Regions from separate parts of the Homo sapiens genome. Here region 1 is linked to region 2. The links are contacts of gene promoters, found by promoter capture Hi-C in blood cells and fetal thymus (Javierre and others, 2016). All regions are on one chromosome and are shown on one strand. The core of a region is centred on a gene start or on the middle of the fragment in contact, and the rest is flanking DNA. Distances in the headings are between cores, read along the strand shown. Region 1 overlaps POLR2A (RNA polymerase II subunit A). Region 2 holds the start of SLC16A11 (solute carrier family 16 member 11).

The links. Contacts are between HindIII fragments. The CHiCAGO score rates a contact against its expected background, and 5 or more counts as called.
Region 1: a fragment that was not itself captured here is called in contact with the fragment with the promoter of SLC16A11 in region 2 in 1 of 17 cell types (monocytes); the score reaches 5.3 in monocytes.

What each region holds. Positions count from the first base shown.
Region 1 is chr17:7,488,420-7,495,505 of GRCh38, forward strand. The region is part of intron 1 of POLR2A (RNA polymerase II subunit A); the gene reads left to right. Among named protein-coding and RNA genes, the nearest start is that of POLR2A, 7.6 kb to the left of the region's middle. The HindIII fragment of the contact is 6,358 bases long and covers 1-5,823 here.
Region 2 is chr17:7,042,842-7,049,440 of GRCh38, forward strand. SLC16A11 (solute carrier family 16 member 11) reads right to left here and starts at 1,251. Exons shown (of 5, transcript NM_001370549.1): 1 at 934-1,251; 2 at 471-678; 3 at 89-232. The coding sequence starts at 672. LOC124903909 (a long non-coding RNA gene) reads left to right here and starts at 226. Exons shown (of 2, transcript XR_007065598.1): 1 at 226-399; 2 at 3,341-4,739. RefSeq lists silencers at 598-657, 728-857 and enhancers at 3,940-4,009, 4,070-4,139, 4,210-4,259. The HindIII fragment of the contact is 13,319 bases long and covers 1-6,599 here.

The DNA of each region.
Region 1 (7,086 bases), core at 1,395-3,894, 450 kb after region 2:
TCACACCTGTAGTCCCAGCACTTTGGGAGGCTGAGGCGGGCGGATCACGAGGTCAGGAGATCGAGACCGTCCTGGCTAACACGGTGAAACCCCGTCTCCCCTAAAAATACAAAAAATTAGCAGGGCGTGGTGGCAGGTGCCTGTAGTCCCAGCTACCTGGGAGGCTGAGGCCGGAGAATGGCGTGAACCCGGGAGGTGGAGCTTGCAGTGAGCCGAGATTGCGCTCCTGCATTCCAGCCTGGGCAACAGAGCGAGACTCCGTCTCAAAAAAAAAAAAAAAATGCTCCCACCTCAGACAGACCCCCAACCCCCACCTCAGTAGCTGGGACAACAGGCTCATACCACCATGCCTAATTTTTAAATTTGTTGTAGAGATGGGTTCTCACTATGTTACCTAGGCTGGTGAACTGGGCTCAAGCGATCCCCCTCCTCTGCCTCCCAAAGTGCTGGGATTCCAGGCATGAGCCACTGCGCCTGGCCGATGTCATATCTTTAGGAGCGCTTCCCTGACCACTCTGTTTAAATAGCATCCCCCGCCCTTCCCTTGTTTTCTCTGATCATTCTCTGCTATATTTTCCTTCACAGCCTGTCACTCCAGAAAGGATTAGTTTTTCTGTTTCTTGCTTCCTTGCTAGAGAATGAATTTCATGAGGGACTTTGTCTGTGTTATTCATGTTCCCTTAGTATCTCAGGTAGTGCCTGGCACATGATAGACATGTAATAAAAATTAGTTGAATAAACAAGTGAATGAAATAATTGGGCAAATATGCATAGATAATGTAGAAGGACTTTTATTGCAACATTGTTTGAAAGTGACAATTATAAATTACTCGGTATTTACTAATAGGAATCCTGTTGAATAACTTAGGGTGTATTCTTACAATGTAATAGAGGAACTTCCCAATAAGGTCCCACACTGTGCTGATGCCCTGAGACACTGTGGCACACGGTGGGCACAGTGAGGTATTTTAAATTTCCAAGAGAAACACAGGTACATTTGTCAGATACCCTGGAACTCCTAGTTCCTGGTAGTTCTGTTTCAACATTAGATGGTGCCAAATCCCTTTCTATAATGTCATATTTTTGTGAAACTGGGTTTTTAGCAGTTGCTAAGTACAGGCAAAAATCAGTTTGTAGAAGAAATAAAGGTGGTGCTGTTTAGTCTGATTCCAAGGTTTGAGAGGTGCAGTGCCTAACAGGCGCCATAAGTGAGTGAGATGGTTATTTGGTAAAGAAATAAAAATGTTATTTTGTTTTAATATATTAATAGTATTTTCAACTTGTGTGTATTTTCTCAAATGGCTAGTAAGTTCCTAGGACATAAATGCTTAAGTTGTTTGGGTCTAGGTGCTTAATAAATTGCTGTCTTTTCTTGGAAAGATGGAGTCTTGCTCTGTTGCCTAGGCTGGAATGCAGAGGTGAGATCTCAGCTCACTGTAACCTCTGCCTCCTGGGTTCAAGCTACTCTCCTCCCTCAGCCTCTCAAGCAGCTGGGATCACAGGCATCCGCCACCATGCCCGGCAATTTTTGTATTTTTGGTAGAGACAGGGTTTCACCACATTGGCCAGACCGGTCTCAAACTTCTGACCTCAAGTGATCTGCCCACCTTGGCCTCCCCAAGTGCTGGGATTGCAGGTGTGAGCCACCGCGCTCGGCTGTGGCTCTCTTTTGACCTAGTAAGTGCTGTGAGAGTTACTGAAATGGTAAGGGCACTGTGGGCTGTTGATAATGTTAGGGAATCTATGGATAAATGAAAAAGTTACTCAGAAGTATGCAGAGTGAAGGCCTTATGTTAAAGTGGGAACGTATTTACGGTTTTTTTAAAGCATGAAAAAAAATGCATGCCGTGGCTCATGCCTGTAATCCCAGCACTTTCGGAGCCTGAGGCAGGAGGATCATTTGAGGCCAGGAGTTCAGGACCAGCCTGGGCAACACAGCAAGACCCTATCTCAATTTAAAAATAATAATAACAAATGGGCTGAGCACGGTGGCTCACTCCTGTAATCCCAGCACTTCGGGAGGCCAAGGTGGGCAAATCCCCGAGGGTCAAGAGTTCAAGACCATCCTGTCCAGCCTAGTGAAACCCCGTCTGTACTAAAAATATAAAAAGCAGCTGGGTGTAGTCGTGGGTGCCTGTAATCCCAGCTACTTGGGAGGCTGAGGCATATGAACCACTTGAACCTGGTAGGCGGAGGTTGTACTGACCCAAGATGGAATAATAACAAATAAAAGTATGGGACACTGTTGACAAAGCTCTACCAGAGTCATCTCTGGGGTGTAGGATTGTTGGGCTTCGATAGTGCTCTGCATGTCTTGCAGTTTATACGATGTCTGTATTTTGAGGGACCAACAGACGGTTCAATTTTGGGTAGAAGGATGGGTGAGGGTGAGTAAGGTGCCTCTTGTTGTGAAACAGGTGGTATTTTAGGCTAAAATGTTTTACAGAAGTCTTAGGGGTCAGAGTGTATGGAGGTACGGAGGGGTCTTTGAATTGGCTTTGAGATAGAGCTGTTGTCCTTGCTGTTAGAAGATGGATTTAGATGTTGCTAGGTGAGGGGAAGGTTACAAGGCGGGTTGGTACTAGAGCTTTGTACCAGCGTGTGCACAAAATTTTGGGGAAAGAGGGTGCTGGATTTCCTTCGCAGTAGTTGACCCCTATTCATTAAAAACAACTGTCTATCATGGAATGCATAACTTATTTATACCCTGACTTATTTAAATAAGGATTTAAAGCAGTAATCTGTTCTTTTTTTTTTTGATACGGACTCCAGCTCTGTTGCCCAGGCTGGAGTATAGTGGCACAGTCTGTGCTCACTGCAACCTCTGCCTCCTGGATTCAAGCGATTCTTCTGCCTCAGCCTCCCGAGTAGCAGGAACTACAGGAGCACGCCACCACACCCAGCTAATTTCTTTTTTGTATTTTTAGTAGAGACGGGATTTTACTGTGTTGTCCAGACTGGTCTCGAACTCCTGACCTTGTGATCCACCCACCTTGGCCTCGCAAAGTGCTGGGATTACAGGCATGAGCCACCGCACCTGGCCTAGTTTTTGTATTTTTATTAGAGACAGGGTTTTACCATGTTGGCCAGGCTGGTCTCGAACTCCTGACCTCAGGTGATCTGCCTGCATTGGCGTCCCAAAGTGCTGGGATTACAGGCTTGAGCCACTGCGCCTGGTCAATAATGTATTCTTTTAGGTAGAGTGTGGGCTACATTGATGAGTGAGAAGATGATCCTTGTTTTCAAGTTACCTATAATCTTGTGAGGGATTTCCTATGTATGCAGCAAATAGTTACTGAGCCTCAACCATATGTTGGTTACTGTGCTAGGTGCTGAGGATATGAAGAGAAAACATGACCCTTGCCCTCAAGGATTACAGTCCAATGAGAGAGACAGATGTGTCACCAAGTAATTAAAATTGGGCTGAGAACCTTGCTGGGGTGTGCATAAGACTAGGAAGAGTTAGAGAAGACTTCATAAGGAGGTGACCTCTGAACTGGGTCTTAAAGAATAAATAGAAGTTTACTCCCAAGGGGGTGTGTGAAGCAAAAGGAGATTTGAGAAATCTATTGTATTTAGAACATAAATGTGGGAGGCGGGTAGGAGAATGTGGTACCAAATAAAGCTGTAAAAGCAACTTGAAGCCAAATTGTAATAAGGACCTTGTTAGCTTTGCTAAAGCAGAGGAAAGAGGACGAGTATTTACTGAGATTCAATGACAGCCCTTTTGTTATTGTGGCCTCAGGGGCAGAACCCAAAGAGAACCCAGCCTGACTGGCCACCCCCTCAAGTGTTTAACCTTTATCCTGTAGGCAGTGAGAACCATTGTTGGCCGAAGGGTTGGGGGCTAATTTAAAATGACAGTTTGAGGCCTGGTGCGGTGGCTCACGACTGTAATCCCAACACTTTGGGAGGCTAAGGTGAGTGGATCACTTGAGGCCAGGAGTTTGAGACCATCCTGGCCAACATGGTGAAACCCTGTCTCTACTAAAAATACAAAAATTAGCCAAGTGTGGTGAGCACCTGTAATTCCAGCTACTTGGGAGGCTGAGGCACAAGAATCACTTGAACCTGAGAGGCAGAGGTGGCAGTGAGCCGAGATTGTACCACTGCACTCCAGCCGGGGTGACAGCAAGACCCTGTCTCAAAAAAAAAAAGTAAAATAAAATAAAAAATGAGAGTTCGTGAACTTGGTGATGGAGGGATAGCTCTTCTCATTAACAAGGATATGCGTGTCTGCTGTCTAGGACACCCCCTGACCCGGTCTCAGAAAGCCTGAAAGCAGAATTAGTCATTAGAAGGGTGGTTGGCTTGGTCGGCATAGACTTTGAGCAGAAAGAGGTTGAAAATGTTGAGCCTGATTTCTCTTAGGCCCCTCTGCAGTGTCTGTTGTGGAGGCCAGATACGTAACTGCTTCCGCTTTTTTTGGTCTCATTCAAGGTGAGCAAATCCCCTTCATGTTTCTCACCAGACAATGCAGCTGATGAGGTTCCAGCTTTGCAAATGTAGTCATCCATGAGGACTGTCTTCCTGAGATTTCATCAGGTCATGTTGATGAGAGTTTTGAACCTGTCTGAGGCTGAGAGGTGTGCAGAACTTCTTCAGCTTTGCATCTGTAGACCATTTTGGTTTCTACCCAGCAGTGGCCAATCAGACCTATTATGAGGGGATTACTGGTTTGACTGTCAGAGGGTAACCTCTCTTTTTCCAAGTTTTTTGAGGGTACCTCCCTCCAGTGGAGAGTCCTAAGCAGTAGGTCAATTTAACAGACATTTGTTAGGAGCCCACCATGTTTCAGGCAGGCACATGGGATTCAGGATGGTTGAGGCATTCTGCCTGCCTGAGAGGTGCTTATAGTTATAGGGAAGACAGACCCCCATAGGTCATTTTATTGCATTGTTGTATGTGCAGTGATAGAGGGCTGTGGAAGCACAGAGGAGGGGTGCCTGTCTACTTTGGGCAGGCTGTGGAAAGGCTTCCTGGAGGAAGCAGTGCCTGAGCCGAGTCTTGAAATAGGAGTTTTGCAGTGGGAAGAGCATTCCAAGCAGAGAGGCACTAGCATATAGAAAACCCCGGAGGAACGCAGCACGTGTTGCGCTGGATGTGATAGGCGACTCCAGGGAATTGTTACTGAGGAGTGAACAGGAAGGTGTGGAGCATCAGGGAAATGAAGGTTGAGAACATCATAAAATCCTTTTGGGAAGCTGTCCTGCTGAGTTTGGATGTCAGTCTGAGGACAAGAGGGTATGAATGATTACATTTTTAGTTTATTATTAATTTTTATTTTATTTATTTTTAGCACACATTTTTATTTTAGAATGAGCACCCCAGTTGTAATGTAGAAGGATTGGAGAGAGACAGGCTGGTGACCCATAGGAACGCTCTGTTGTAGACTACAAAGGAAGGGCCTGAACTAGGGCAATGGTGGTGGGGATGGAGAAGAGAGGCAAGATTCAAGAAACACTTAGGAGGCCAGGCGTGGTGGCTTATGTGTGTAAACCCAGCTGAGATTCCCGCCACTGCACTCCAGCCTGGGTGACAGAGCAAGACTTCTTAAAAAAAAAAGGGAGGTAAAAGTGACCAGTACCTGGTGAATGACTGAATAATAATAATGTCCATTCATAAAGCGCCAATTACATCCTGGACTTAAGCAAGCTAATTAAGTCCTTAATGGTTACATAGTTCATAAGTAATATAGGCAGAATTCCAAAGCAAGGGTGCCCGACAGCTAAGTCCATGTTCTTTGGACTGTTTTGTGCTTGAAGGTAAGGAAAGGTAAGCATAGGTTTCTGAATCTGGGATAGAGACTAAAGGAAAAAGAGAAGCTTTTGTGGAAAAGAGAGTTTGCTTTTAAACATGTTTAATTTGATTTTTTGGTGTGATGTTTGCAGGGGGTTCAGTAGGTAGTCACATACGTGAACCCAAAGTCCAGAAGAAAAGTAAGGCCTGGAATTAGAGAGTTGAGAATGAGTATCCAAGCATACCTTGGAGATACTGTGAGTTTGGTTCCAGCCCACCGCAATAAAGCAAGTCACATGGAGTTTTTTGGTTGCCATTGTGCATGTTACATTAGTACTATGCTGTAGTCTACTAAGTCTAAGTGTACAATAGCATTACAATTTTTTTTTTTTTTTGAGACGGAGTCTTGCTCTGTCATTCAGGCTGAAGTGCAGTGGTGCGATCTCAGCTCACTGCAACCTCCGCCTCCTGGGTTCAAGTGATTCTCCTGCCTCAGCCTCCCGAGTAGCTGGGATTACAGGTACCCATCACCACACCCAGCTAATTTTTTTGTATTTTTAGTAGAGATGGGGTTTCACTATGTTGGCCAGGCTGGTCTCAAACTCCTGACCTCAGGTGATCCACCCGTCTCAGCCTCCCAAAGTGCAGGGATTACGGGTGTGAGCCACCGCACCCGGCCCATCTACTTCTGAGTTCTTCTGTTTCCTCCTTTCCTTCATTGAAATGTCCCCATCAAGTCCTGGCTCTTCCTTTCTTGGGATTCCAGCTATTCACTTTTGCTTCAAATCATTTCCACCAACCTGTTTTTCTAGCACCTGTTTCTCCAGTCTTTTAATAAAATCTCTGGCCTGGCGCGGTGGCTCACGCCTGTAATCCCAGTACTTTGGGAGGCCGAGGCGGGTGGACCATGAGGTCAAGAGACCATCCTGGCCAACCTGGTGAAACCCTGTCTCTACTAAAAATACAAAAATTAGCTCGATGTGGTGGCGCTCACCTGTAGTCCCAGCTACTTGGGAGGCTGAGGCAGGAGAATCACTTGAACCCGGGAGGCAGAGGTTGCAGTGAGCTGCGATTGCGCCACTGCACTCCAGCCTGGCGACAGAGCGAGACTCCATCTCAAAACAAAACAAAACCAATAATAAAATCTCCATCTGGACACGAAAGGGTTCAAGCAGTTCAGGCCTTGAGAAGGAGGGCATGACAAAGATGAGGGAAAAGAAACAGGGCTGCATCTCTGAGTGCCTCGTTTCTTATCAGGGGCTTGAGTTGGCGGGGCATGTCTTGGTGCAGAACACCTGGGCTGTCATGGCGAGGGTACAGGTACAGAGAGGCTTCTGCCAGGATCTC
Region 2 (6,599 bases), core at 1-2,500:
GGCCCCCGCCTCGTTCGCTACCCCAGATCCCAACAAGCTCCTGTCACCTCCTTCACCCTGAATGACCCGGGCATCCCACTTCCCTCACCAGCGAGGAGGCCCAGGCCGAGGTAGAGATGCAGCAGATCGCTGGCGAAAGCCGAGAAGACGAAGCCCAGCGAGGCGAGGACGCCCCCAACCATCACCACGGGGCGGGCCCCCCAGCGCGTGCTCAGGGCGCTGCCCACGGGGCCTGAAAGGGGGCGGAGTCAACGGAAGACACGCCCCCGGGCCCCCAAACTCTCTCCAACACTTCTCATTGGCTGTTTGCCTCCCTCGAACTAATGGTTCTTCTCCTTGACCTCAAGATGCACTCTTTTCTAGAGCCGGTTGCCCTTTCTCAGGTTGTCGGGTAATCAGGTGGGTCTCCCATCCCTCCACTCACGGCTCCTCCTCCCCGTTCCTGTCTCCCGCCTCAGGGCCCCCCTCACTGGCTGCCTGCTGCACGGCCAGGGCCAGGGCGCTGATCCACGCAGTGTCCTGGGCGCTTCGGTCAAAGTGCTCGGCAAGGTCAGGGAAGGCAAGGCCCAGCGAGCGCAGCAGCCCGTAGGACAGCCCGTTTATCGCGAAGGCTGCGGCCGCCACCACCCAGCCCCAGCCCCCATCCGGGGGTCCGGCGGGCTGGGGGGTCATCGCCGTCTGCGGGGTGGGGAAACATCTGTGAGAGAAGCCTCCACGCCTGTGCTTCCGCTGGGGAGCTGGCATCCCTGAGATCCAGCCTCTGGCTGCTCGCCCGGGGTGGGCCCGTCACTCCGAGCGCGATGGCGCGGGGCGGAGGGAGCCGGAGCCTGGCCTAGGGCTGGAACTCCCGGGTCCGCGCGAGGTACGGGGACGGGGACAGCCAGATCCCCAGGCCCGAGGTTCCCCGTCCCACGCACACTCCTTCCCCCTTACCCGACCTCTCCGGGCGGTGCGGGGAGGGGAAGGGTGAGGAAGGGCTGGGCCCGGCTTTCTCTCTGCTTCCCAGGCGGGCGGGGGCCCCGAAGGGGAGCGAGGGCAGCGATGGAGCCCAACTTGGACGGGCTCTCTCGGTAAACAGAGATCACCACAGGGGCCTGAGCCACCTGGGACGCGGGGTGTACGGAGGGCGGGGGCGAGCTGAAACAGCCAATCCGGCAAGCCGCGCGTGAGGCCAGACGCCAGTCCCACGGGGATTGAATTATGTACACACACAACCCCCAGGCCCGGGGGAGGGGGGAGCGGCGAGAAATGAATGCAGAGGGGCCCTGCCCTACTCACACGCATGCACCTGCCGCCTGCTGCGCGCAGGGGAGACACGTGGATTGCAAACCCCAGCGAGCCCAGGGTCCACCGCCAACGCGTGGAAATAGGGATGGTCCCCAAAACCTGAGGGGATGAGTAGTTTTGTTCTCAGGAACGTTGCCGAGGACCAGGTAAATCTCGGATATCAATCAGATCACAGACCTCCACCAAGTGCCAGCTCTGTGCTTAGAATAACAGACCCCCAGGCCGGGCGCGGTGCAAGCCTGTAATCCCAGCACTTTGGGAGGCCGATGTGGGTGAATCACCTGACGTCAGGAGTTCGAGGCCAGCCTGACCAACATGGCGAAACACCATATCTACTAAAAATACAAAAAAAATTAGCCGGGTGTGGTGGCGGGCGCCTGTAGTCCCAGCTACTTGGGAGGCTGAGGCGGGGAATCGCTTGAACCCGGGAGGCAGAAGTTGCAGTGAGCCAAGATCATGCCACTGCACTCCAGCCTGGGTGACAGAGAAAGACTCTGTCTCAAAAATAAATAAATAAACAAAAATAAAATAAATAAAATAAAATAACAGGTCCTCAAGGACAGAGGGATGAAACACGACTCCCTCAATGTGAAGACCTGCAGTGTACCAGGCACCGTTTACACATGCTATCACTTCATCTTATGATAACCCTATGAAGAAGGTGTCGCTTTTCTTTTTTTTTTTTTTTAGATGGAGTTTCACTCTGTAGCCCAGGCTGGAGTACAGTGGCGAGATCTCGGCTCATTGCAACCTCTGCCTCCTAAGTTCAAGCCATTCTCCTGCCTCAGCCTCCTGAGTAGCTGGGATTACGGGCGCCTGCCACCACTCCCAGCTAATTTTTGTATTTTTTAGTAGAGATGGGGTTTCGCCATGTTGGCCAGGCTGGTCTGGAACTCCTGACCTCAGATGATCCGCCCACCTCGGCCTCCCAAAGTGCTGGGATTACAGGAGTGAGCCAACGCGCCTGGCCGATGTCGTGCCTCTTTTATAGATGCAGTAACTGAAGCTCTCAGGGAAAAAATGGTATGGATATTTGAATTTAGGTCTGTCCAACTGTGGACCTACAAGGAGAACAATCCCAGGACTGAAACAAAATCTGGCACAGTTAAGGGAAAGATCCTGGATACAGCTTGAAGCAAACTGCCCTGGAAAGGGTGGAACCATTGCAGGGACAGAAAACTTATGAGTCTAAAATAAGGGGTCACTGGGAATAGAAAGGATTCTTGAGATCAGAATCTCTAAACACTTAGGTTAGAATTTTATTTTTTATTATGTATGTATGTATGTATGTATGTATGTATGTATGTATGTATGTGTGTGTGTATTTATTTATAGAGACAGGGTCTTGTCCAGGCTGAAGTGTAGTACTGCCATTATGGCTCACTGCAGCCTCCACCTCCCAGGCTCAAGCAATACTCCACCTCAGCCTCCCGAGTAGCGAGGACTACAGGCTCCACACCACCATGCCTGGCTAAATTTGTTCATTTTTTTTGTAGAGAGGGGGTCACAGCATGTTGCACAGGCTGGTCTCAAGCTCCTGGACTTAAGCAATCCTTCCACCTCGGACTCCCAAAGTGCTGGGATTACAGTCTACCATGCCTGGCCAGGTTACAATTTTAAAAGCAAAGTAAAAAATCAGGTCATTGAAGCCAGGTATTGATTTTTTGAAAAACTTTATAGAAAATGTCCTTTTTTGATAGGTTGACATTCTTTACCTCAGCTCTTTGAATTCAGAGATGTGTTCTTTGGTTTAATTATTAAACAATATGATAGAACATTCAGCAACTTAAGTTTGGAGCATGCATCCATTGAGCCACATGATGGCAGTGTTTCCTAATTATTGGGAAAGAATCTGCACGTAAAGACAAGAAAAACAGCTTCTTAAGGAGCAAAACTGTAAACATAAAAGACACAGCATGACTATAGGCAATGGCTCTCCATTGCCTATAGACGGGAAAAATTACATTTCTCTATTTGTACAGGTCTTTTACAATAATCAAAGGTAGACCTAGGTTACCGTTCCAAACCATCTCCCCTCTCTCCCTTTTGCCAGCCTCCCATCAGCCACTGTCTTCTCTGCTCTGTGGACATGCCTAGCTTTTTCTCACTCCTTAATTTTTGCATATGTCATGCTCTCTGCTTGAAACGTCCTGTTGTTCATGAAGGTCCTGACAGACACACCTTAGGAAAGTGGCCCCACCGGTTTCCCCAGCCTGGAGTGCTGTTATGAAAGCCACCAGGGAGGCGGAGCCAGCAGGTCCTCAGCTACCGGGGAGGGCAGGGATCCCGCTTCCTGAGAAGGCTGCTGAAGACTCTGCTCCAAGCTAAACGAATCACTGTCTCCCCATGGTGACGCAGAAATGCAGGACAGTCAGAGCGAAGACCGGGCCCTCCGCATCTGGGAGTTGTGCTAAGTGATGCTGCGCACCTTCGCAGGATGCTTACGAAGCCAGAAGGGTATCCCAGAGCCTGGGACTAGGGCTGTGAAAGAGCACATTCCTCTTCTACCTCAGGCTCCCTATATTCTTAGCAAAACTTGTCATCTTTTGCTCACGGAGGTAAAATAGCACAGAGATTAGGAGAATGGACTCCCAAGCTAGATTTCTTGAGGTTGAATGCCAGCTCTACTGTAGGGTCTAGCCCTACGGGGCTTGGCGGGTGTTTTCCCCGTGTGCGGAGATGAGAGATTGTAACAAATAAAGACACAAGCCAAAGAGATAGAAGAAAAGACGCTGGGCCCTGGGAACCACTACCATCAAGACGCGGAGACCGGTAGTGGCCCCGAACGGCTGGTTGCGCTGATATTTATTGCATACAAGACAAGGGGGCAGGGTAAGGAGGGTGAATCTTCTAAGTGATTGACAAGGTGCAGCAAGTCACGTGATCACAGGACGGGAGGGCCCTTCCCTTTTAGGTAGCCGAAGTAGAGACAGAAGGCAGCATACGTCAGCGTTTTCTTCTATGCACTGATAAGAAAGATCAAAGACTTTAGACTTTCACTATTTCATCTACCGCTCTGTACTACGAACTTCAAAGAGGAACCAGGAGTACGGGAGGAACATGAAAGTGGACAAGGAGCGTGAGCATTGAAGCACAGCCCCACAGGGAGGGGTTTAGGCCTCCGGATGACTGCGGGGAGGCCTGGATAATATCCAGCCTTCCACAAGAAGCTGCTGGAGCAGAGTGTTCCCTGACTCCTCCAAGGAAAGGACACTCCTTTTCGCGATCTGCTAAGTGATGGGTGTCTTCCCAGGCACTAGCGTTACCGCTTGACCAAGGAGCCCTCAAGCGGCCCTTATGCGAGCGTGACAGAAGGTTCACCTCTTGCCTTCTAGGTCACTTCTCACAATGTCCCTTCATCACCTGACCCTATACCTGCCGGTTATTCGTAGGTTATATTAGTAATGCAACAAAAAGTAATATTAAAAGCTAATGATTAATAATGTCTATAATAATGATTGATAATTGTCCATGATCATCTCTATATCTCATTTGTATTATGACTATTTTTATTCTATTTTCTTTATTACACTGAAACAGTTTGTGCCTTCAGTCTCTTGCCTCGGCATCTACGTAATCTTTCGCCCACACTCTACCACTTAGTAACTATATGATTATGAGCAAGTGTGACTCAACCTCTCTGTGCCTCGGTTTCCTCATCTCTACAATGGGGGTAATAACAGTAGCTACCTGATGGGTTGTTATAAGAATTAAATGAGTCACTGTGAATACACATATAAGTAAGGAACTTAGAACAGTGCCAAAGTATACGTGTTAGAGCTCATTGCCGCTATTTTCTTTCTTTTTTTTTTTTTTTCTTTTTTTTTTGAGACAGAGTCTTGCTCTATTGCCCAGGCTGGAGTGCAGTGGTACAATCTAGGTTCACCACAACCTCTGCCTCCCAGGTTCAAGTGAATTCTCCAGCCTCAGCCTCCCAGGTAGCTGAGATTACAGGTGCCCGCCACCACACTCAGCTAATTTTTTTGTATTTTTATTAGAGACGGGGTTTCACCATATTTGCCAGGCTGGTTTTGATCTCCTGACCTTAAGTAATCCACCTACCTCAGCCTCCCTTAGTGCTGGGATTACAGGTGTGAGCCACCGCGCTCAGCCTCCATTGCCGCTATTGCTGTGAGTTGAGGAACCTGGCTGGACCTAACAGCACGGCAGCCCTTTCCCACCTGGCTACCTCTGCCCATGCCTCAAGGTCAAGGCACCACATTGCCCTGGTAAGTTCTCAGTAGAGCCACATGGGTTAGAAAATGTGAATGGCTATAAAGAGATTCAATGGAAATTTCTGCTTTTCTTCTTTCTTTTCCCTTAGCATTTTCCAAAGTTTGTGTGAAAATGCTGGTCTCCCTGCCTTAACTCTAAAAACAAAAGAGAAGGCCGGGCGCAGTGGCTCACACCTGTAATCCCAACACTTTGGGACGCCAAGGCAGGTGGATTACCTGAGGTCGGGAGTTCAAGACCAGCCTGACCAACATGAAGAAACCCCGTCTCTACTAAAAATCCAAAATTAGCCAGGCGTAGTGGCAGGCGCCTGTAATCCCAGCTACTCGGGAGGCTGAGGCAGGAGAATTGCTTGAACCTGGGAGGCAGAGGTTGCCGTGAGCCGAGATCGCGCCATTGCACTCCAGCCTGGGCAACAAGAGCAAAACTCCATCTCAAAAATAAAAATAAATAAAAAATAATAGAGAAGAAAAAAGTCAAAATAAGTTTTATTCATTCAGTCCTTCATACAAAATATTTATAGACAGCTACCGCGTGCCAGCTGCTATGCTTAGGGTTCGGGATACAAATGTGAATAAGATATAGTCTCTCCCCTCCCAGCCCCACAATCAAATCAGAGGATCATCACATAAAGAAAAGAATTCTCAGCACAAGGACGGGGACACATACACCGTAGAGTGGTGCATGGGAAGAACTGACTCATTCCTCTTAGGACTGCTGGGAGGCTTCACAGAAGAGGAGCCCCTTGGGCTGGGTCTTGAAGGATGAGTAGGAGTTTGCCAGATGGATCTGTGGGCAGGGGCGTTCCAGGCAAAGGAAGCAGCTTGTGGAAAATCACAAAGGCATGAACCAGCTTGGCACATTGTTTATTGTTTGGGGAGCTATAAATAGCCGCTGTGTGGAGAACCGAGCATGTGTAGGAGGATAATGTAGGATTAAGCTGCTGGGCAGAGGGTCCCGTCTGAAAGGCCTTGAAGGCCAGGCTAAGGATATTCCTCCAGAGGCTGATACTACTCCAAAATGTCCAATGAAGTAGCACTCACTAATACTCACTAATAATGGAAGCTGAATACAGAGGA